Linked DNA regions of Homo sapiens: regions 1, 2, 3, 4, 6 and 7 are each linked to region 5. Evidence: promoter capture Hi-C in 16 types of primary human blood cells and fetal thymus (Javierre and others, 2016). All regions are on one chromosome and are shown on one strand. The core of a region is centred on a gene start or on the middle of the fragment in contact, and the rest is flanking DNA. Distances in the headings are between cores, read along the strand shown. Region 1 holds the start of LOC101927272 (a long non-coding RNA gene). Region 2 overlaps NKD1 (NKD inhibitor of Wnt signaling pathway 1). Region 3 overlaps NOD2 (nucleotide binding oligomerization domain containing 2). Region 4 has its middle 5.3 kb from the start of NOD2. Region 5 holds the start of CNEP1R1 (CTD nuclear envelope phosphatase 1 regulatory subunit 1). Region 6 overlaps LOC105371244 (a long non-coding RNA gene). Region 7 has its middle 28 kb from the start of SNX20.

Region 1 (2,700 bases), core at 201-2,700, 640 kb before region 5:
ATTAAGGAAATTTGCACAAACTAAACTTGGCACTGGGTGGAGTACAGGGAACTTCCTCTGAGAATTTGAACTGCAAGCGGGCACTCGCCCATGTTTTAGGGCTGAATACACACAGCATGGTCCAAAATCCCTCAAGCAGAGAAATCATGTTAAAGTGGTCTCAGGTGGAGGTGTTCCAGGTGCCTCAAGACCTGGAGATCTTTAGGTCTTCCCTGGGGCTGAAGGATGTCAGCATCAAGCCAGGCCTATAAGAAGTGTAGGATCCTGTTGAGTTCAGAGGTGCTGAAATGTGAAAAAAAAAAGTCATCTCAAAATCACAGATAGATGATATGTGTGGGGTGTTGGGGGGGTGGGGCGGGGGGTGCACACAGAGAGAAAATACTTATATGGGAGTAAAGGAGCCTATAGAATCACATGGGGGGTTCCCCATAAGTACCTCTGAAGAGGGGTTGGCTTCCCACACAGTGCACAGGAAATGGATTTATTCAGGCTTCCCAAAAAGGGACTGGCCACATGGGGCAGCTTCAGGACCATCACTTTGCCTTTTCCCGATGACACTCAATGCTGCCCCTCCTCGTGCTTCTGGCAGCCTTGGCCTGAGCATCCACGGGAGTTTCTTCTGGCCATGGACACTGCATCTTCATCCACTACAAGTTGTCTGATGGACTGGGATGGCCTGCCACAGCCAGCTCCTCCTGGCATCTCCCATATGCTGCAGCAGTTAGAGCCCACTCGTTCCTTGGGTTCCTGGAACAAGTCCTTGAATTCCTTAGGCCCCCACCTCCAGCAAGCTTTCCGCAGGGCCCACTGCAGCCCCACCGGGGTACCCCACCTCCCTGTTTGCCTGGGCCCTCTCCCACGCCACCTGTATTAGTCCTTGTTTCTAGGGGACTTTAGAGTGGTGGCAGCTGGGACTGAACATTCTTCTCCTGACCCCTCAAAAGCTGGGTCCACAGGAGAGGTGAGGGGGTACCTGACCTCCATACCCAGGATGGAGCCTTGTTAGGAACACAGAATTTCAGGCCCCACCCTAGACCTGCTTAATCGGAGTCTGCACTTTAACAAGAGCATCCCCCACTGCCGCAGGTGACTCTTACCTGCATACCTCAAAGGTTGAGAAGCCCAGTGTTGAACTGACTTGAAGGCACCTCAATGAAAATCATCCATGGAACTGGGCCATCTGTGGTCCTGGGTTCATCCCCATCCTTCTCTTCTCTCCACCCGGGCCCTCTACCATACAGGTGCCTCATCCCAGGGGACTGCAGATGGGACTACCATGCCAGCCTCACAACCATACCTGCAAAACCACTCTGGGCATTTGGACTGGAGCTTAAAGGGGTTCATTCCAATGAAGCCCTCCCTGCTGCAGCAGCCACTCCCCCCCACTGGCTGTGATGGAGTCCTGGGGTCTCCACTTTGAGCTGGGATTAGGCATCCTCATGAGACCCTGTCCCCTGGGATGCCGGCAGTTCCCTGCCAAGCCCACAATTGAAAACAAGCTCTGCAAGCAGCTCCCTGTGCGGTAAAAGTCAGGGCTCCCCAGGCCTACTGTGTGACCAGGCACTGCCGGGCCATTGATAGCACCGTCACTCCAGCTCTGCTTGGGACATGTTCCTATCCCATTTTTCAGTTGAGGAAAATGTGATCATTTGTAACATTGTAACCTGAGGGGGTTAAGTGACTTGCCCAGGGTTACACAGCTAATAACTGGACCAGGAAATTAAGACCAGGCTTTAATTTGACCCAAGCCCTACTTTCCTTGCTGAACTCCACATTAAAGGATGTGGAGGAGAGGGGAAGGGATATGTTCCTGGTCCCCTCACCGAAATGGGTCCTTGATATGGTTTGGATGCATGGTGGTCACCTCCAAATCTCATGCTGAATGTGACTCCCAGTGTTGAAGGTGTGGCCTGGTGGGAGATGTTTGGCTCATGGGGGCAGGTCCCTCATGGATGGCTTGGTGCCCTCCCCGTGGTAATGAATGAGTTCTCACTCTGTTAGTTTACATGAGAGCTGGTTGTTTAGAAGAGCCTGACATGGCTCTTGCTCCCTCTCTTGCCATGTAAGTCACGAACTCCCCCTTCCCCTTCCACCATAAGTGGAAGCTTCCTGAAGCTTCACAAGAAGCAATGCTGGTGCCATGCTTCTGTACAACCTGCACAACTGTGAGCCAAATAACCCTCTTTTCTTTATAAGCTACCCAACCTCAGGTATTCCTTTATAGCAATGCAAAATGGACTGACACGCCTTTAAAGATCATTTCACTCACCTCTGTTTACAGATGGGGAAATCAAGGCCTGGAGAGATGACTTATCCAGGGTCACGTGGCGAGACAGGGACAGCACCAGAACCAGACCCGAGATGTCCACGTCAAAGTGACATGCTCTGAGAGGCAGCACACACAGAATAACCCTGCATCCAAATTCCAGGAAGCTCTTAGGGGTCATCCAGCTGGGCCTAGGGGTGCAGGGTCAGTGCTGAGGCCTGGGCAGGGCCGCTAGCCTCCCTGAGCTTTCTGGCTTCAGGCTGGGAGGCACAGTTCAGGGTGGACTGTGACCCCTTGGCCTAGAATGCCCTTAGCTCTGCTCTCTAGTGGCTGTCCCCATAGCTGGAACTCTGTTTTGGAGTGGCAAAACCAGTTCCACCTGCTGGTAGGGGTAGGTTGGCTCCCAACACATCCCCAGCAGGCCTCTCTTGGGC
Region 2 (2,700 bases), core at 89-2,588, 590 kb before region 5:
AGTCCATTCTCTGCCTCTGATTCCTGTTTAGCCCAGCCATTTTTCCGCTTGAGAAATTATCTTTTGGGGGCCTAATTTCAGGGGGTGCTGATCATACTGATCACTCTTCAATTGAAAGTCTGAGGAACTATAGGAGACACTGCTCATTTGGAAGAAAAAAGGAAAGCAGGAGACCGGGTGGGGAAAAAAGGCCTTTCACTTGCCTAAGAAGCACTTTTGGGTGACTTAGAGCAGGAGGTGGCAAACTACACTTGCTGAGCCAAACCTGGCCCACCTCCTGTTTTTGTAAATAAAGTTTTATTGGGACACAGCCATGCTCATCTGCATTGTCCATGGCTTCTTTCACTCTGTGACAGCAGAGTTGAACTGTTGCAACAGAGCCCACAAAGTCTAAAATACATACTATCCGGCCCTTCATGAAAAAGTCTGTGGATTGATTGCTGCTTTAGATGTGTGCCACCCTCTACTTCCACCAGGATATGTGCTTGATGAGCAGGGCACAGACAGTTTCACCTATTACTTGCCTGCTTGGCTGGAAATCCTTGTGCAGTACACAACCTGCCCAACCATACAGTGGCTGTGGAAGAAAGAAAATGTCAACTCTGCTTTCTTAAGGCCTATTGTCAGCCCATATGAATCTGGGGGGTTGGTAATGGTTTGTGGAGTTCCCTCTCTTTGGAAACTGCTCCCTGTCCCTCCTCACACCACAGCCACGAGGAGTCAGCTTGCTGTGTTTACCAAATGACGGTTCTCTCCCCATTAGCTCCCAGCCTGGCAGCTCTCCACCCTCAGCAACTGCCAGATTAAAGGCATTACTTGACCATCTTCACCCGGCTCCCTTTGATGTTCCCTTCTCAAGCTTCAAAATACCTTTTGGAGGGAGATCAGACAGCATTAAACAGAATTACTAATTAATTAAGCAAAGTTAAATTTTAAACACTGTTTGTTGTGTTAGCCAAAAGCCTGAACAGACTTTTTTCCTCCGCTGAGATCAAAGACAGTCTCTTCCCTCTCCCCTCCCCCAGTTTAAAAAAGGGAGGGGTGGGGAGGAAGAGAGAGCGAAAGAAGAAGAGTGAGGAAATACCTGAATGGTGACAACTTTGACTGTGGGTCTAGACACCCCTCCCGCCTCCCCATGGGCCCAATGGGAGGCTCCTTGGGGACCGCATGCTGTGAGAGCCACAGTCACTCGGGACTGTTTACCCTGGCAAATGGCAGTGACCCAGGGAGCAGGATGGCACAGCCCACCCAGCCCAAGCTGCTGACAGCTGGCGCCACCCAAACAGCAAGAGAAGAAGGCCTGTGAAATAAAACAGACCTGTCCTCCTCAACAGTACAACAGGGTGAGCTCCTCGGGGCTCTTCCCCTTGGTCTGGGGTCACTTGAGGTCACTAGGAGACCGGATCCAAGAAGCAGGCTGTGCACTGTACAACCCCAGGTGGTGCCACTCATATGACCAATACCCTAGATATGTGTATTGCTTATGACATCCTTTGGACAGATGGCAGAAAGGTGTCTTGAGGAGGGGCAGCTTTTTTCTAATTTGCATGAATGCATCCGGAGCTAGTGGGGTGCTGTCTCCCGCCATTCAGTCTAGCACTTTATTCTGTACAGTCCTATCTGGGACCTTCTGATTGCTTCACAGGAGCCTCCACATCTGCACAGCCAGAAAGCAAGTTTCTTGAGATCTGGCGCCTTCTAGGCTTCTGCTCCCGGGTTGCCCAATGCCTAGCACTTCCCATACGTGCACAGGGCAGAGATTCCGCCAGGCCTGCTGAACTACAGCACATTCTACAGGTAGGCATAAGGAAGCTTGGCTACATAACAAATATGCCATACCTTCTGCCTTGATGGAGACTGGGAAGTGCCATGGGGAGGTGGGGAGTTGAAATTTACATAAAAATCCAAACCTGGGATGATACCAGTAAATGCCAGCTTATCTTAACACAATCCAGAAAGGCCTGGTGCATATGAAACTTGGAAAGAAGAGACAAATTTGAAACACAGTTATGACTAAATCAGCCCCACTAAAGACCAGAAATTACTAACAATTCAATTGCATGGCAGACCCCTCTCTTAGCCTAGTTACCTGGCAAGTTCTTCTCAGTGAATACAATGTAAGATTTAACACAAGCCAGAACTTCCTTGCTAGAGTCTGGATGCTCGCCCTGACATATCCACAGTCCTTTCTCAATCGTCCACGTACAGATTATCTGCTGCAAATATTTTAGTCTCAGGGTTGCTTGCCAAGATGTTTGAGTCCACAACCTTCTGACAGCAGCTGTTCGAGGGAATGCAGATGAATTTTAATATTAGCCTCTGCCAAATATAATTAGGCGGGTAAATCTGCTGCCAGTAAAAAGAGAAAGATATCATATGTGCATTCCAGGCCAAATGGTTTCTTGCAGTATCTGTATCAGGCTCTCCTTAGGGAATGAGGGTCCTAGCGATCCCACCTCTGTTTGTAAACACAGCCACATACTGTGGTGGGCTGCATGGAGAGGCTGGTGAAGTTAGTAGTACCACACATTATTCCATTAAGTCCTCTTAACACTGTGCAGGGTGTGCTACTGTTGGCATCGTACAAAAGAGGAAACTGAGCTTAAAAACCAAAACTGATTATGCCGTTTCCCTGCTTAAACCCCTCCAGTGGCCCCCTTTCCCCTAAGGAGGGGTCCAAAGGCTTCCACGACCCGGCTG
Region 3 (2,700 bases), core at 9-2,508, 700 kb before region 5:
GCATTCACTTACAGCACATTAGGCCAGGGAAAGCCTTTACTTATTGTCTGAGAAATAGATCCCTGGAAACAAGAAGGACAAATCTTTGAAGCTGTGGCTCAGCAGAGAGAAAGTCTACAACACTGGACCCAGCTGCCCAGACTCCCAAGGCTAGTCATTCTTTTTAAGGCAATGAAAGAATCTGTCAAGAATGCAATTCTTGCTTTTTTCAATACATGAAAGTCTATGGCTTTAATTATAGAGAATTGGAAACACTGTGCAACCTGCTCCTAACCTGTGTAATCTCCATTCAGAACCGCAGAAGGTCTGATCCAATATCCTTGACCTGTGAAGGCAGATGCAATTTCTAGGAGGGCGGGAGCTGACTTTTCTTTTCATTCTTCAACCACATCCCCATTCCTACACTATCTCATAGAGCAGAGAAGTTGCTGAATAAATAGTCAAGGTTTAAAAATGAAATCATTGCTCCCTACTTAAAGAGGTAAAGACTTCTTTCTTAGACAGAGAATCAGATCCTTCACATGCAGAATCATTCTCACTGAATGTCAGAATCAGAAGGGATCCTCAAAATTCTGCCATTCCTCTCTCCCGTCACCCCATTTTACAGATAGAAAAACTGAGGTTCGGAGAGCTAAAACAGGCCTGCCCAGGGGCCTTACCAGACTTCCAGGATGGTGTCATTCCTTTCAAGGGCCTGCAGGAGGGCTTCTGCCCCTAGGTAGGTGATGCAGTTATTGGACAACCTGGAAAAGAAGATACAATGGTGAGCTTCAAGGATTCTTGGTTTTCCTCTTGAAACTGTCCAGTTAAAGAGACTGCAGGAGTTAGCCAGTCTACTGAAGCCCACCTGTCCCTTAGACACATCCTGCTCATGTCTGAGATTCCCAATGAGCTCATCAACAAAGGCTCAGTACCATCAGTGAAATGTAACCGTCTCTCTTCCATTCACTAGATGAGTTTATCAAATTAAGTAGCCACTCCCTTAGGATAGTGGTTAAGTACCTGCATTTTAGTGCTAGACATCCTGGGTTTAAATCCCACCTACACCACTTCTTTTTTGATCTCGAGCAAATTAGTCCCAATCTCCTCATTGGTAAAATGGGCCTAAAAGAGTACCCGTGCCATCGAGCATAAGAATCTAAATTGTGATGGGTGTAAGCAGGCTCCTATTCACATCCACCATCCATCTCCTTGTGGCATGGGTCCTGGGCCATTAAGTCAGCCACCAGTCCCCCATTACCTCCCCACACTCTGCTTGCTGGGAAGACCCACCACTCTCTGCATGCCTAAAACACTTGCACAGTACTTGATATGGTTTGGCTGTGTCCCCACCCAAATCTCTTGAATTCCCACGTGTTGTGGGAGCGACCCAGTGGAAGGTAATTGAATCCCATCCTGTTCTCATTACAGTAAATAAGTTTCATGATATCTGATGGTTTTAAAAAGGGGAGTTTCCCTGAACAAGCCCTCTTCTCCTGTCTGCTGCCATGTGAGATGTGCCTTTCACCTTCAGCCATGATTGTGAGACCTCCCCAGCCACGTGGAACTGTAAGTTCAATAAAACTCTTTCTTTCATAAAGTGCCCAGTCTTGGGTATATCTTTATCATCAGCATGAAAACGGACTAATACAGTACTTAATTGATAGAAAATAACCAATGAGCAGTAATATTTCTATTTTCAGGGGGGTCTTTGAGGGCACAGAGACAGAGATTAGAGAACATATGAGGTAGCTGACAACAGGGAGGGGAGACAGGATAGGGCCAGGGACAGCAACAGAGGAGTCATGTGTTTCCCAGGTTGCTCTTTTGGTTACAGCTTTGCCTTCCAATAATGTCCACTCCAGGTCCTCCCCCTTTCCCACAATTTCAGGAATGTCTTACAAGTTGACCCTAAGGCAATGCCAATTGTAATTGCCAGTATTTATTGAACTTCTATTAGATTGGTGCAAAAGTAATTGCAGTTTTTGCATTGTTGAAATTTGCCATTTGATATTGGAATACATTCTTAAATAAATGTGGTTATGCTATACATCATTTTAATGCACAATTCTCACTTTATGATTTTTTGCTAATGACTTAATACTTTCTGTTTATTTTATATTTATTTTAGACTATGAAAATGATGTTAGACAAAAAGCAAATTCAAGCAATTTTCTTATTTGAATTCAAAATGGGTTGTAAAGCAGCGGAGACAACTCACAACATCAGCAATGCATTTGGCCCAGGAACTGCTAACTAACGTATAGTGCAGTGGTGGTTCAAGAAGTTTTGCGAAGGAGATAAGAGCCTTGAAGATGAGGAGTGTACTGGCAGGCCATCAGAAGCTGACAATGACCAATTGAGAGCAATCATCAAAGCTGATTTTCTTACAACTACTTGAGAACTCAACATCGACCATTCCATGGTCATTCAGCATTTGAAGCAAATTGGAAAGGTGAAAAACCTCGATAAGTGTGTGCCTCATGAGCTGAGTGAAAACCAAGAAAATCGTCATTTTGAAGTGTCATCTTCTCTTATTCTACACAACAACAGCGAACCATTTCTTGATCTGATTGTGACGTGCGATGAAAAGTGGATTTTATACAACTGGCAATGACTAGCTCAGTGGTTGGACCGAGAAGAAGCTCCAAAGCACTTCCCAAAGGCAAATTCGCACCAAAAAAAAAAGGTCATGGTCACTGGTGGTCTGCTGCTAGTCTG
Region 4 (2,700 bases), core at 147-2,646, 660 kb before region 5:
CACCATAAGATACCACTTTACACTCACAAAGGTGCCCTTAGTCCAAAGGACAGAAAACAAGTGCTGGAAATAATGTGGAGAAACTGGAAGCCTCATACATTGGTGGTTAGAGCGTAAAGTGGTGAAGCCACTGTGGAAAATAGTTTGTGGGTTCTTCATAAAGTTAAACATGGTGTTACCATATGATCCAGCAATTCTACTCCTAGGTATACTCAACAGAATTGAAGCATATATGCACACAAATGCTTGTACACAAATGTTCATAGCAACATTATTCATAAGAGGAAAAAGTGGAAGCAAACTAAATGTCCCTCAGCTGATGAATGGATAAAGAAAATGTGATCTATCTGTGCAATGGAATATTATTCAGCTGTGAAAAAAACAAAGTACTGATAAATGCTACAACATAAATGAACCTTGAAAACATTATGCTAAGTGAAAGAAGCCAGTCACAAAATGACATCTATTGTGTAAGTCCGTTTACATGCAATGTCCGGAATAGGCAAACCCATGAAGACAGAAAGTAGATTTGTTGGTTGCCAGGAACTGAGAGGAGGGAGGAATGAGGAGTGACTGCTAGTGGGCATGAGGTTTGGTTTTTGTTTTGTTTTGTTTTGTTTTGTTTTTGCATGATGAAAATATTCCGGAATTAGATCATGGTGATGGTTACACAACCTTGTGAATGGACTAAAAACCAGTGAATTACACACCTTAAAAGGGTGAGTTTTATGGTATGTGAATTATATCTCAATGAAAAACAGTTGGGCTGCCAAATGCTTTGTGTAGAAAGAATATAAGGCTAAATTTAAAGAGTAGGTTGTTTTTTAACAAGGATGCCAAGATAATTCAAAGGGGAAAAATGATCTCTTTAACACATGGTGCTGGGAAAACTAGATATCCACGTGCAAAAGAAATGAATTTGGACTACTACCTCATACTTTATACAAAAATTCTGTAATAGATATGTGTGAATATATGCATTGAAACATCTAAAAGACAAGTTAGGATCGGATTTTAACTGGACTTTTAAAATTCTTCTGTGTTAACCTGTATTTCCTAATAAGCATAATTTACTTGTTTAATAATAATTTTTTAAAACTTTCCAATGAGTTAAGGGATATTGATTAAAAACTCCCTGTGTGCAGGGCCCTCTGCCGAGACAGGCAATTGGGATGCCCTGGAGACATTTCTGTCCTTGAGTGCTCTGACATGGGCACCGTGCAGGAAGTGCTCAGAAGAGGCGGAGGGAAAATGCTTCCAGAATCCCCCGGGCCTCAGAGGAGAGAAATCCTTGGATTGTGTCATTCAAAATTCTTCCAGGCCGGGAAGCTGCCTGTGCCTGAGCACTTCCCCCAGGAGCGAGGACTGCCCCCATCAGCAGGCCTGGATAGTAGGAGCTCAGCCCAGGACCGACGGCGGCTGCTGCTGCTGACAGTGGTGGTAACCCGGCCTCATAGTGGGCTGCAGTCTCCACGCTGGTGGTCCTCTGCTCCAAGCAGCCCGCCCACTCACCAAAGTCCAAACACTTCCACAAGCTGGCCCAAATGGATGAAGACAGGAATGGCTTTCCCTCCCCACATCTCTGCACCCCTAGCTTCACCAACTTCCCGCAGCTCTCAGTACTCCCACCTGTGAGCTTCTGCTCACTCTGTGCCCCAGGCAGAGGCAACAGGTGGCAACTGCAAGGACTCTGGCCCCAGCGAACTTGGATTTGAATTCCAGCCCTGCTCCTTAGCGGCTGTATGCTCTTGGCCAGTCATTTCATTTCTCTTGACCTCAGTCTCCCTCACAGTTAAGTGAGGATGACAGTCCACTTAGATCTTGTCATGAGGGATGCATACACTAGGACTCGGTGCCTGGTAAACAGTGAGCACACCACAGTGTGAATATGTTATTGAACACTTGCCATATGCCACGCCGTGTACTCTCACAACACCTCTATGGAATAGGTTCCATTCCTCATCCCCATCTTTGACAGGAAGAAACGGAGGTTTCAAGAGGATCATGAATTTCCTAAGATGACCCAGCTATGGAATGGTGGGACTATGAGTCAAGTCCACGTCCTTCTCTACCTGCTTTTATCTGGACCTTCCATGCCCACCTCCTGCAAGGAAGCTCTCCAGACCCCACAGTCCCTGTGGGCTCTCCCAGTCCTCTCAGCTGCAAAGATCAGCCTGCCTGTTCTCCTGTTGGCCATCAGCCGAGACGGTCCAACACTGTTGGCCCAAGTTCCATGTGTCCGTCCTGTGTATCACCAGTCTCTGAGGGTTCAAGGTATCCCTTCCTTGTCCCTTCCTTGTTGCTGGACCTCAGCCTCTGGCCCAGTGCTTGGCCAAGTCTGTTTTCAGAGTGACTTTTTTTTTTTTTCCGAGGTGGAGTCTCACTCTGTTGCCTAGGCTGGAGTGCAGTGGCGCCATCTCAGCTCACTGCAACCTCCGCCCCCTGGGCTCAAGCGATTGTCCTGTCTCAGCCTCCCAGGTAGCTGGGACTACAGGCATATGCCATCATGCCCAGCTAATTTTTGTATTTTTAGTAGAGACAAGGTTTCAGCATGTTAGCCAGGTTGGTCTCAAACCCTTGACCTCAGGTGATCTGCCTGCCTTAGCCTCCCAGGCTAGGATTACAGGCGTAAGCCACTGCGCCCTATCCATGGGTGACTTACTGACAGAGGGACAATGCTTGAAAGAAGGACACATTGGA
Region 5 (2,700 bases), core at 32-2,531:
TTGTTAGTTTTCCCTTAAAATAACATTCAGGAACTTACTTCTCCAGCGTCCAGTAGCAGGTTGCAAACAATGAATATATTCAGTAAGTCTCCTCTCAAAAGCCTTGAGATCTAGGTATAAAGATGTCAATTTTCTAATTAGCCACTCTTACTCGTCTGACGAAATGTCAGAGTATTTACCTAACATTAAGACGACATGTGAGATACTCTTAACTGCTTCAGGTCTTACACACTAACTTCCATGTATCACTGCACTGTTTATTTCATTTACTATGACAGCTTTTTAAGCACTTGACAAAAAATTAGGGCTCTTTAATTCCAATTTCTCATATAAGAAAACTTGCTGATTTACTTTTAGAAGCTTCATAAATGGTATTGGGAGAAATAAGCAGCAGCCTCGGCCAGCGCCAAAAGCGAACATTTTCAGGGTTGCAAATAAAATTAAAATCAGGTCGAGTTTTAGCTCTCTGGGAACCAAGAACTTCCTATTAGAACCACGTAGTGCCTAACATCAAAGTCTTCGAGGTCTACCTGACTGCAATTACCCGCCTCCGGTTTCCAGCTCTTATATTTAATTAATGGCTACGCCGTCTGGCCTTACTAGACTTCTTGACACTGATAGCGAGTGGGTGTGGAAAGACATTCCCCTTGCCCCCTCCGAAGGGGTACAGGTGATCTTCGTGGCACCCAGGCAGCGCCTAGTTCTAGAAGACAGGGGCGTCTAAGCTGCTCCGAGTGAGTGGTGGGGTATCCTTTCCGCAGTGGTGTGCTTTAAACTTTAAAACACCGAGCAGCACTTCCTAACCTTGGCAGTTACCGGAAACCACCGCAGGAATCAGGGATACAACTCGCGGGGCTGTGAGAATGAAATGAAATGAATTAGCAGGCTGCAATGCACGAAGTGCAAGTGTCTGCCAGTGAAAAGAAAATAAAAATAGAAGCTGGCGAGGAGGTCGACCCTCTAGGTTTGTGGGGACTCAGGGAGCTGAGGCACCGCCCCCCGCGTCTGGCCAGGTACGGCCGCCTACGCGCCCCCAAGCTCCGGGCCCCTAGCTCCATCCTCTGCGGCCTCCTCCCGGGGCGGGGGTCTTCACGACGCCGGCTCCTCCGGAGCACCGCCAGCTTCCGAGGGGAGACGGGGGACGGGCCCGGGCGGCCCACCCTACCTTCCGCCTGCTCCAGCGAGTTCATGTCGGGCGGCAGCTCGGGTCACCGCCGCTGCCCTGTCCGCATCGCAGCTTCCGCGGCCCCCGCCCGGCCCGCAGCGCCAACTCCCACCTCTAACCGCTCCCCGCTGCCCCTCCCCGTCGCACCGCCCCTTGCCTAGACCCGCTACGCTCATTGGATTCCTCTACTAGACCTCCAACTAAGACAGCTTTCTATTGGCTGTCTCTTGCACCGGCCTCGGCGCCTAGCGTTGGACGGTCAGCCGGAGGGACCAAGAACTGCCGGCGGCCAGGCGGGCGTAACGCTGGCGTCGCCTGCTGCCCCGGGGAGGAACTGCAGCCCTCCGGAGCCAGTTCGTTCATTCATTTATCCCCCGTTCCCCGCTTGGTTCTTTCATTCGTCAAATGTTGATTGAGCGCCCACTACCTTCCAGGCATTATTCTGGTCGCTAGCGAGGGATACAGAAATCAAAGAGCTGGTTCTGTCCTCAAGGATCTCAAGGAGTAATGAAATCTGTACAGAACTAACTAGAACCCTAAATAACCAGTTTCCTTAATTATGGTATCCTAGATAACCAACCCCTTAAGTAAACACTTCTCTCTTGGTTACTTTCCTCTCACATCACCCAGCTTTCATAATTCCTAAATGAGGCAAAGTGTAAGCCCAAATACCTATAACTTAAGAAGAGATCTGTAAGGGATTGACTACATTTGTATTTGATCACAAGGCCTTCTTGTTCATTTATTGGTGGCATTCTTTCATTCAAAATCATTTTATTGCCTAACATGCTAGACACTGTATTGATACGCGTGTGAGCCAGGTAGACAGGATTCCTGCCCGCAAAGAGGAAGGGCTACAGCAGGCAACAAACATGCAAATAAGTAATTGATTTCAAATAAGAATAGTTGTGTTAAAATAGAGATCCTGGCCGGGCGCGGTGGCTCACGCCTGTTAATCCCAACACTCTGGGAGGCTGAGGCGCGTGGATCACTTGAGGTCAGGAGTTGAGACCAGCCTGGGCAACATGACAAAACCCTGTTTCTACTGAAAATACAAAAAAATTATCCAGACGTGGTGGTGCATGCCTGTAATCCCAGCTCTTTGGGAGGCTGAGGCACGAGAGTCACTTGAACCCAGGAGACGGAGGTTGCAGTGAGCCACTGCACTCCAGCCTGGGTGACAGCGTGAGACTGTCAAAAAAGAAAAAGAAAAAAAAAAGAATCTAAGACTGATGGGCTAGATTTTTTTGTGGCAGTAACATACCAACTTATAAACAAGACCTAAGGCCCTGCCAGGCAAGGGTTAAATCACTCAAGACCCAGACACTTAAAGAATAAACGATGTTCTAACTGCCACAATGTTCGTTTTTTTCCTCTAGCAGCTAAACAAGCAATATTAAAACAATTGCAGCTTACCAAGTACCAGTCACTGACTAACTGATCCCTTTGTTCCACAAGCCATAACTCCTGCTTTCATTAGACAAGAGACTGATTTCAGTAACTTTCTCCTGATAAGAGACCACCCACCATAGATT
Region 6 (2,700 bases), core at 76-2,575, 620 kb after region 5:
CTAAGTGCTAGAGACTCTTGAAACTTCCCTTGGATTCTTCTTTTCACGCCAACACTTGAAACTTGGTATTTTCTTTCACATTTTATTTCTCCTCCCTTCCTTCCTTCATTTCTTCCTTCTTCCCTTCCCAATCCTTTTCCAGCTGTCTGAATGTATTTGCATGTGTTCTTGTAAGCAGTGTGTTGTTGTATGTGTGTATTTTCAGTTTGTGTTAAGACTAGAGTGTCCCTTCTCATCCTGTTTCCCATCTTTTTCACTCACCTTGTTTTGCCATCCACCAGCACCCAGACATTCCTGCCAGTGCTAGTGTCCTTAAATAGATCTCCTGGGATAGAACTTTGGAATATACGTCCAGGAGTGGGGCTGCTTGCTAGGTCCCTGCAGTGTCCATGTGTAATTTAACCTAGAGCGGCTGCAGTGGCCCACACTCCTACTGCAAGGCATGAAGCTTCCTTCGTTTCCACGTCTGTGCCAACATTGGCCTTCCCTAGCTTTCTAACATGTTTCAGTCTCATAGAGTGGTACCTCATGGTTATTTTAACTTGCATTTCTTGCCCCGATTTGGAGGAAAAGAATTGAAGTCTCAGAAAAGTGATGTTAGTGAGTAGCTGGGCTTGTGTTCATCTACCCGAGGCTTAGGCTCGAGGGCCCGGCTTCCCCTTGGATAGGCTGACGGCTCTGCCAGCAGCCGGGCCAGACAGCGTGGACACCGTCAGGAGAGTAGCCTTCTGCTGTGATAGAGCCCCACCTGGTGGCGCAGGAAGGGAAGGGGAAGGGGAAGGGCAAGAGGAGGGAAAGAAATGGAAGGGGAGAAATTTACTCCAGCAGCTGCACAAGGCCACGCCCTGCCACAGTCATTGCACACCTGGAGGACATGCGCCAGGCCTTAAGGGACTTAGGTTTAGCCTCTGCCTCTGGGAGGTGGAAGGAACTAGAATAGCTTCACCATTGAGGAGCCTATTGTTTTTAGCAAACGAAACCGGAACTTTTTTTTAAACAAAAAACACTTAGTATATTTCTTTTTAAAATGTACTTTTAACTAAAGTACAATATACCCATATAAAGGGCATAAATCCCAAGTGCACAGCTCAATGAATTTTCTAAGCTAACTGGCCTCCGGTGGATCACATACCCCCTCTTCCAAGGATAGCCACCATCCTGACTTCCAACACTATAGATTAGGTCTAGGTTCTATTTTTTTTTTTTTTTGGCCTGGGTTGAAGGTTGTATAAATGGAACTCCACAGGTGTTCTTTTTTGTATTTTGCTACTTTTGCAGAATACGTTGTGTATAATGCATCCGTATTGTTTGGTCATTCTTGTTTTCATGCGGTATTCCATTGCATGATTATACTGCAAGATATGCTTTCTACTGTTGACTGATGGATATTTGGGTTGATTCCAGTTCTTGGTTATATAGAATAAAGTTGCTGCAAAAGTTAGCACATGTCTATTGGTGCACACATCCATTGGCGCACACGTCTATTGGTGTACACGTCCATTGGTGCACACGTCCATTGGCGCATACGTCCATTGGTTCATACATCCATTGGCGCACATGTCCATTAACACACACGTCTATTGGTGCACACGTTCATTGGCGCACACGTCCATTGATGCACACGTCTATTGATGCACACGTTCATTGGCGCACACGTCTATTGATGCACACGTCTATTGGCGCACACGTCCATTGGCACACACATCTATTGGCGCACACGTCTATTGGCGCACACGTCCATTGGCACACACATCTATTGGCGCACACGTTCATTGGTGCACACGTCTATTGGTGCACACGTCTATTGGTGCACACATCCATTGGTGCACACGTCTATTGGTGCACACGTCCATTGGTGCTTACATCTATTGGTGCACATGTGCATGCAGTTCTGTTCAGTATGTATGCATAGGAAATACCAGACCATAGAGGAGTGTATATTCAACTTTACTGGATGCTCCCAGTTTTCCTAAGTGGTTGTGCCAACCTGCAGGGCAATGGCAAGAGTGTGAGAGTTCTGATTGCTCCAGATTCTCACCAATGGGCTTTGCCATTGCCAGTCTTCAGCCATTCTAGTGTGTGCGTAGTGATTCTGCATCGTGTTTTATAACTTGCATATCCTGATGATTAATGACATTTTTTATGTTTATTGGTCACTTGGCTATCCTCTTTTGTGAAGTTTCTATACTAATAGAAGCTTTTGCCTATTTTTTCCACTGAGTGACCTGCCTTTTTCTTACCAATATATATAGGAGTTAAAAATATATCACCTGGATAGGAGTCCTTTGTCAGATATGTTGTCAGAAGAAATATCTTCTCTTGCTTGTGTTGCTGGCCTTTTCACTCTCTTAGTGATGTCTTGGATAAGTAGAAATTCTTTTCTTTTCTTGAGACAGGGTCTTGCTCTGTTGTCTAGGCTGGAGTGCAGTGGCATGATCGTGGCTCACTGCAGCCTTAACCTCCTGGGCTCAAGTGATCCTACCACCTCAGCCTCCTGAGTAGCTGGGACTACAGGCATCCACCACCATCCCTGGCTAATTAAATAAAGTTTCCTTTTGTATAGATAGGTCTTACTATGTTGCCCAGGCAGGTCTTGAACTCCTGGCCTCAAGTGTTCCTTCTACTTCAACCTCCTAAAGTGCTGGGATTACAAGTGTGAGTCGCTGCACCTGGCCAGAAATTCTGAATTCTAATATAATA
Region 7 (2,700 bases), core at 17-2,516, 630 kb before region 5:
CCCCGCACTTCTCCCCACAGGCCTGTATCAAGCAAGGTGGCAAAGCAAGGAAGGGCCACCACCTCCAAGTCCCTCCAGGCCCATTCTCCTGGGCCTCCTCCTGAGGACCCTCCTCCACCAAGGAGACCCCATACGACAGCCTACCTTGTCTGGCACACAGAGAGGAGGGGATGGCCCAGGGGCTGTGGGTGCCAGGCAGGGGTTGACCAGATGACCCTGAGCCTGTCAAACTAGGATCACACCAGCCAGATCCCTGAATCCAGCCCTCCCTCCCTCTCTAACTCCAGTTCAGAAACTCTGCCTTGTAGTCAGAATGGGCTGGGTTCTGTGGCAGGAATGTAAGTCTGCATACAGACAATAACCTTAACTCTCCATGGCTTCACATATCACAGGGTACTTCTCATGCTCACAAAGTCCAGGGCAATGCAGGCGACTCTCCAGGATAATTTCTTTTCTTTTCTTTTTGAGACAGGGTCTCACTCTGTTGCCAGCCTGAGAGCAGTGGCACAATCACGGCTCACTGCAGCCTCGACCTCCTGGACTCAAGTGATCCTCCCGTCTCAGCCTCCTGAATAGTTGGGACTGACACCCAGCTGATTTCTGTAACCAAGACGCTTTTCTTCCATGCCACAGCTCAGCAAACCAGGCTCCTCCTCTCTTGCAGCTGTGCCATGTCAACATGAGGCTTTAGGGGCAGAGAGAACTAAAGAGACACGAACTGGCTCTTAAATACTTTCATCCAGGCACTTCCACTCCCAGCCATAGGCCAGAATGAGCCTTATGATCCCATGCAGGCAGGAGGAGCTAGAGCGCAGGGGGAGTGTGTGCAGAGCCAGCGATCAATAGAAATCTGTCACCTGCCTGCTGGATGCCACCAGCTGCGGTCCACTCTGCTACCTCCCATGGGATCACTACCTCTCAAAACACCTGTTGGGGACTGACCTGACATAGACCTGGCACTGTGCTCAGCACTGGCTCTCCCATAATGACCAGGACAGACATGGTCCCATCCCATTCCTTAAGGGGCTCATATCGGAGAAGGGAGGGGATTGAACAGTCCCTCCTCAAAGTTCCTGGCCCCCATTTCTGTGTCCCTTTTTTGTGAGCATCACCATCCTTCCTGACTCACAGACCAAGCTTAGTCAGCTCTCAACCCTGGAATGAGCCTCAGTTTTCTCATCTGTACAATGGGGATAAAAAGAGACTTAACAGAGGTCATCTGATGATCATGAGAAAGCAAGTCTCCAATTGGTGCAGCCTAAACAGCCACCAGGCAGTGGGACCAGGATTCAAGCTCCATCATCTGATTCCATCGCTCGAGTCTCTTCTGTGGCCCTTCCTCTTCCTCCTTAGCTGGGTGGACCCTGCAGAGTTTGCCTCAAACATTGAAGCTTTTGCTAAGAAGGAGGGGATCTGAGAGTCCAACTTTCCAGCCACAGCCAAGGTGAGCCGGGCCTGGCCTTGAGCCAACTTGGTCCCCTGAAGACTGCCTGAACTAGCCCAGCCTGATCCCCAAGGCATCCCTGGAACTGGCCCTGGCTCAGGTCATTCCAGGAGGGCCACAGCAGCTGTCCTTCAACCCAGGACCCAGACAGGGCCAGCTCCAAGCCCCTCACTCCCACCACCCTTTCTCCACATGTAGATGTGGTCAAAAACCTTACCATGGGACTGGTAAGGCCACCACGGCCACCATTAGAAACCTGATCCCGAGTTGCTGATTAAAACCAGGAGGGGTTTTTAATCAGCTGAGGCCATATGCTATTTAACCAAAGATGAAAGCACGAGTGATAAGCATCGTCTCAGAAAGGATGTCATTAAAGGAAGAGCAGAACAGCAAGAGGCAGCTTTTATCATTAGAGAAGCCCCTTGCAAAGCTCTCGTGAGGGGCTTCGGGGAACATCTGGGCTCGGTCTATTATGCAGTACTTACAACGTCATTGTGTTTGACAACGGCTCCTGAGCCCACGCCACACTAAACTTCTAAATATACAATTAATGTCTATTAATTATAGTTTTCAAATCAGCAAAATGAGCCTTCATTAACTTAATCGCCTCTTCTATTTTATCAGGAAATTGTACTCTTGGTGTTCATAATCCCCGCATCTGAAACCCCCCTTTGACAGGCGGCATGTGATGCTTGGCTGACTGTTTAAGGGAAGGCCTGCCTGTCCTCCCCGCATCTAGGCACCCCGCCTAATCCACCCTCGGCCATGAGACGTGAAGCCACTGAGGGCCTCCGAAGTATTCCAAAGGGTTTGTGAGCAGGCATGTGGTCCGGGAGATGGTGTTGGAAGTGAGGCGGCAGCTGCCATCATGGTACCTGGTCAAGCTGGAGCCCAGCTCAGATGGAACTGAATCTGAACCAGTATGTGTTGGGGGGATGATGTGGACAGGAAACTGGCCACTGCCTCTTGCATCTCTTTGGACCCTAGGCAGCCCTCCTTCTCACTGTCAGCAGCCTTGGGGATTATCTCGCTGCTCACAACAGCCGGTGTCTTATGATGTAATTAACCCCATTGCAGACACGGGCAAACTGAGACTCACAGAGGGGAAACGGTTTCCTCAGGACTGCAGAGCAAATTGTTGGCCATGCTGAGCCTTCAACTCAGCTCATCTAATGCCCAAGATAGGGCCTCACCCTGAGTTTGCATATATAATGGAGGTCACTGTTTTTCAGTGGACTTTCATCTTCTTCTCTCCC

What was found. Contacts are between HindIII fragments. The CHiCAGO score rates a contact against its expected background, and 5 or more counts as called.
Region 1: a fragment that was not itself captured here is called in contact with the fragment with the promoter of CNEP1R1 in region 5 in 12 of 17 cell types (total CD8 T cells, naive B cells, neutrophils and 9 more); the score reaches 12.8 in total CD8 T cells.
Region 2: a fragment that was not itself captured here is called in contact with the fragment with the promoter of CNEP1R1 in region 5 in 6 of 17 cell types (naive CD8 T cells, activated CD4 T cells, naive B cells and 3 more); the score reaches 8.8 in naive CD8 T cells.
Region 3: a fragment that was not itself captured here is called in contact with the fragment with the promoter of CNEP1R1 in region 5 in 4 of 17 cell types (neutrophils, naive CD8 T cells, total B cells and 1 more); the score reaches 6.9 in neutrophils.
Region 4: a contact is called between a fragment that was not itself captured here and the fragment with the promoter of CNEP1R1 in region 5, in 5 of 17 cell types (naive CD8 T cells, total CD8 T cells, naive B cells and 2 more). The highest score is 7.7, in naive CD8 T cells.
Region 6: a fragment that was not itself captured here is called in contact with the fragment with the promoter of CNEP1R1 in region 5 in 3 of 17 cell types (endothelial precursors, fetal thymus and total CD4 T cells); the score reaches 7.4 in endothelial precursors.
Region 7: a contact is called between a fragment that was not itself captured here and the fragment with the promoter of CNEP1R1 in region 5, in 13 of 17 cell types (total CD8 T cells, naive B cells, total CD4 T cells and 10 more). The highest score is 12.0, in total CD8 T cells.

What each region holds. Positions count from the first base shown.
Region 1 is chr16:50,668,730-50,671,429 of GRCh38, reverse strand. LOC101927272 (a long non-coding RNA gene) reads right to left here and starts at 2,575. Exons shown (of 3, transcript NR_110908.1): 1 at 2,270-2,575; 2 at 437-747; 3 at 1-282. It also overlaps a transcript of SNX20 not described here. The HindIII fragment of the contact is 1,314 bases long and covers 794-2,107 here.
Region 2 is chr16:50,615,630-50,618,329 of GRCh38, reverse strand. All of the region lies in intron 4 of NKD1 (NKD inhibitor of Wnt signaling pathway 1), which reads right to left. Among named protein-coding and RNA genes, the nearest start is that of NKD1-AS1, 3.3 kb to the right of the region's middle. The HindIII fragment of the contact is 953 bases long and covers 862-1,814 here.
Region 3 is chr16:50,727,861-50,730,560 of GRCh38, reverse strand. NOD2 (nucleotide binding oligomerization domain containing 2) reads right to left here. Exons shown (of 12, transcript NM_001370466.1): 11 at 660-743. It overlaps CYLD-AS1 (CYLD antisense RNA 1), which reads left to right. Exons shown (of 7, transcript NR_184279.1): 5 at 608-718; 6 at 1,411-1,548; 7 at 2,111-2,700. Among named protein-coding and RNA genes, the nearest start is that of CYLD, 13 kb to the left of the region's middle. The HindIII fragment of the contact is 3,218 bases long and covers 1-2,700 here.
Region 4 is chr16:50,686,934-50,689,633 of GRCh38, reverse strand. No RefSeq gene overlaps it. Among named protein-coding and RNA genes, the nearest start is that of NOD2, 5.3 kb to the left of the region's middle. The HindIII fragment of the contact is 3,251 bases long and covers 1-2,700 here.
Region 5 is chr16:50,023,806-50,026,505 of GRCh38, reverse strand. CNEP1R1 (CTD nuclear envelope phosphatase 1 regulatory subunit 1) reads right to left here and starts at 1,281. Exons shown (of 6, transcript NM_001281789.2): 1 at 1,166-1,281; 2 at 39-110. The coding sequence starts at 1,190. RefSeq lists a silencer at 968-1,277 and an enhancer at 1,091-1,592. The HindIII fragment of the contact is 11,127 bases long and covers 363-2,700 here.
Region 6 is chr16:49,406,163-49,408,862 of GRCh38, reverse strand. All of the region lies in intron 7 of LOC105371244 (a long non-coding RNA gene), which reads left to right. Among named protein-coding and RNA genes, the nearest start is that of C16orf78, 34 kb to the right of the region's middle. The HindIII fragment of the contact is 1,749 bases long and covers 451-2,199 here.
Region 7 is chr16:50,652,314-50,655,013 of GRCh38, reverse strand. No RefSeq gene overlaps it. Among named protein-coding and RNA genes, the nearest start is that of SNX20, 28 kb to the left of the region's middle. RefSeq lists a silencer at 460-640. The HindIII fragment of the contact is 254 bases long and covers 1,140-1,393 here.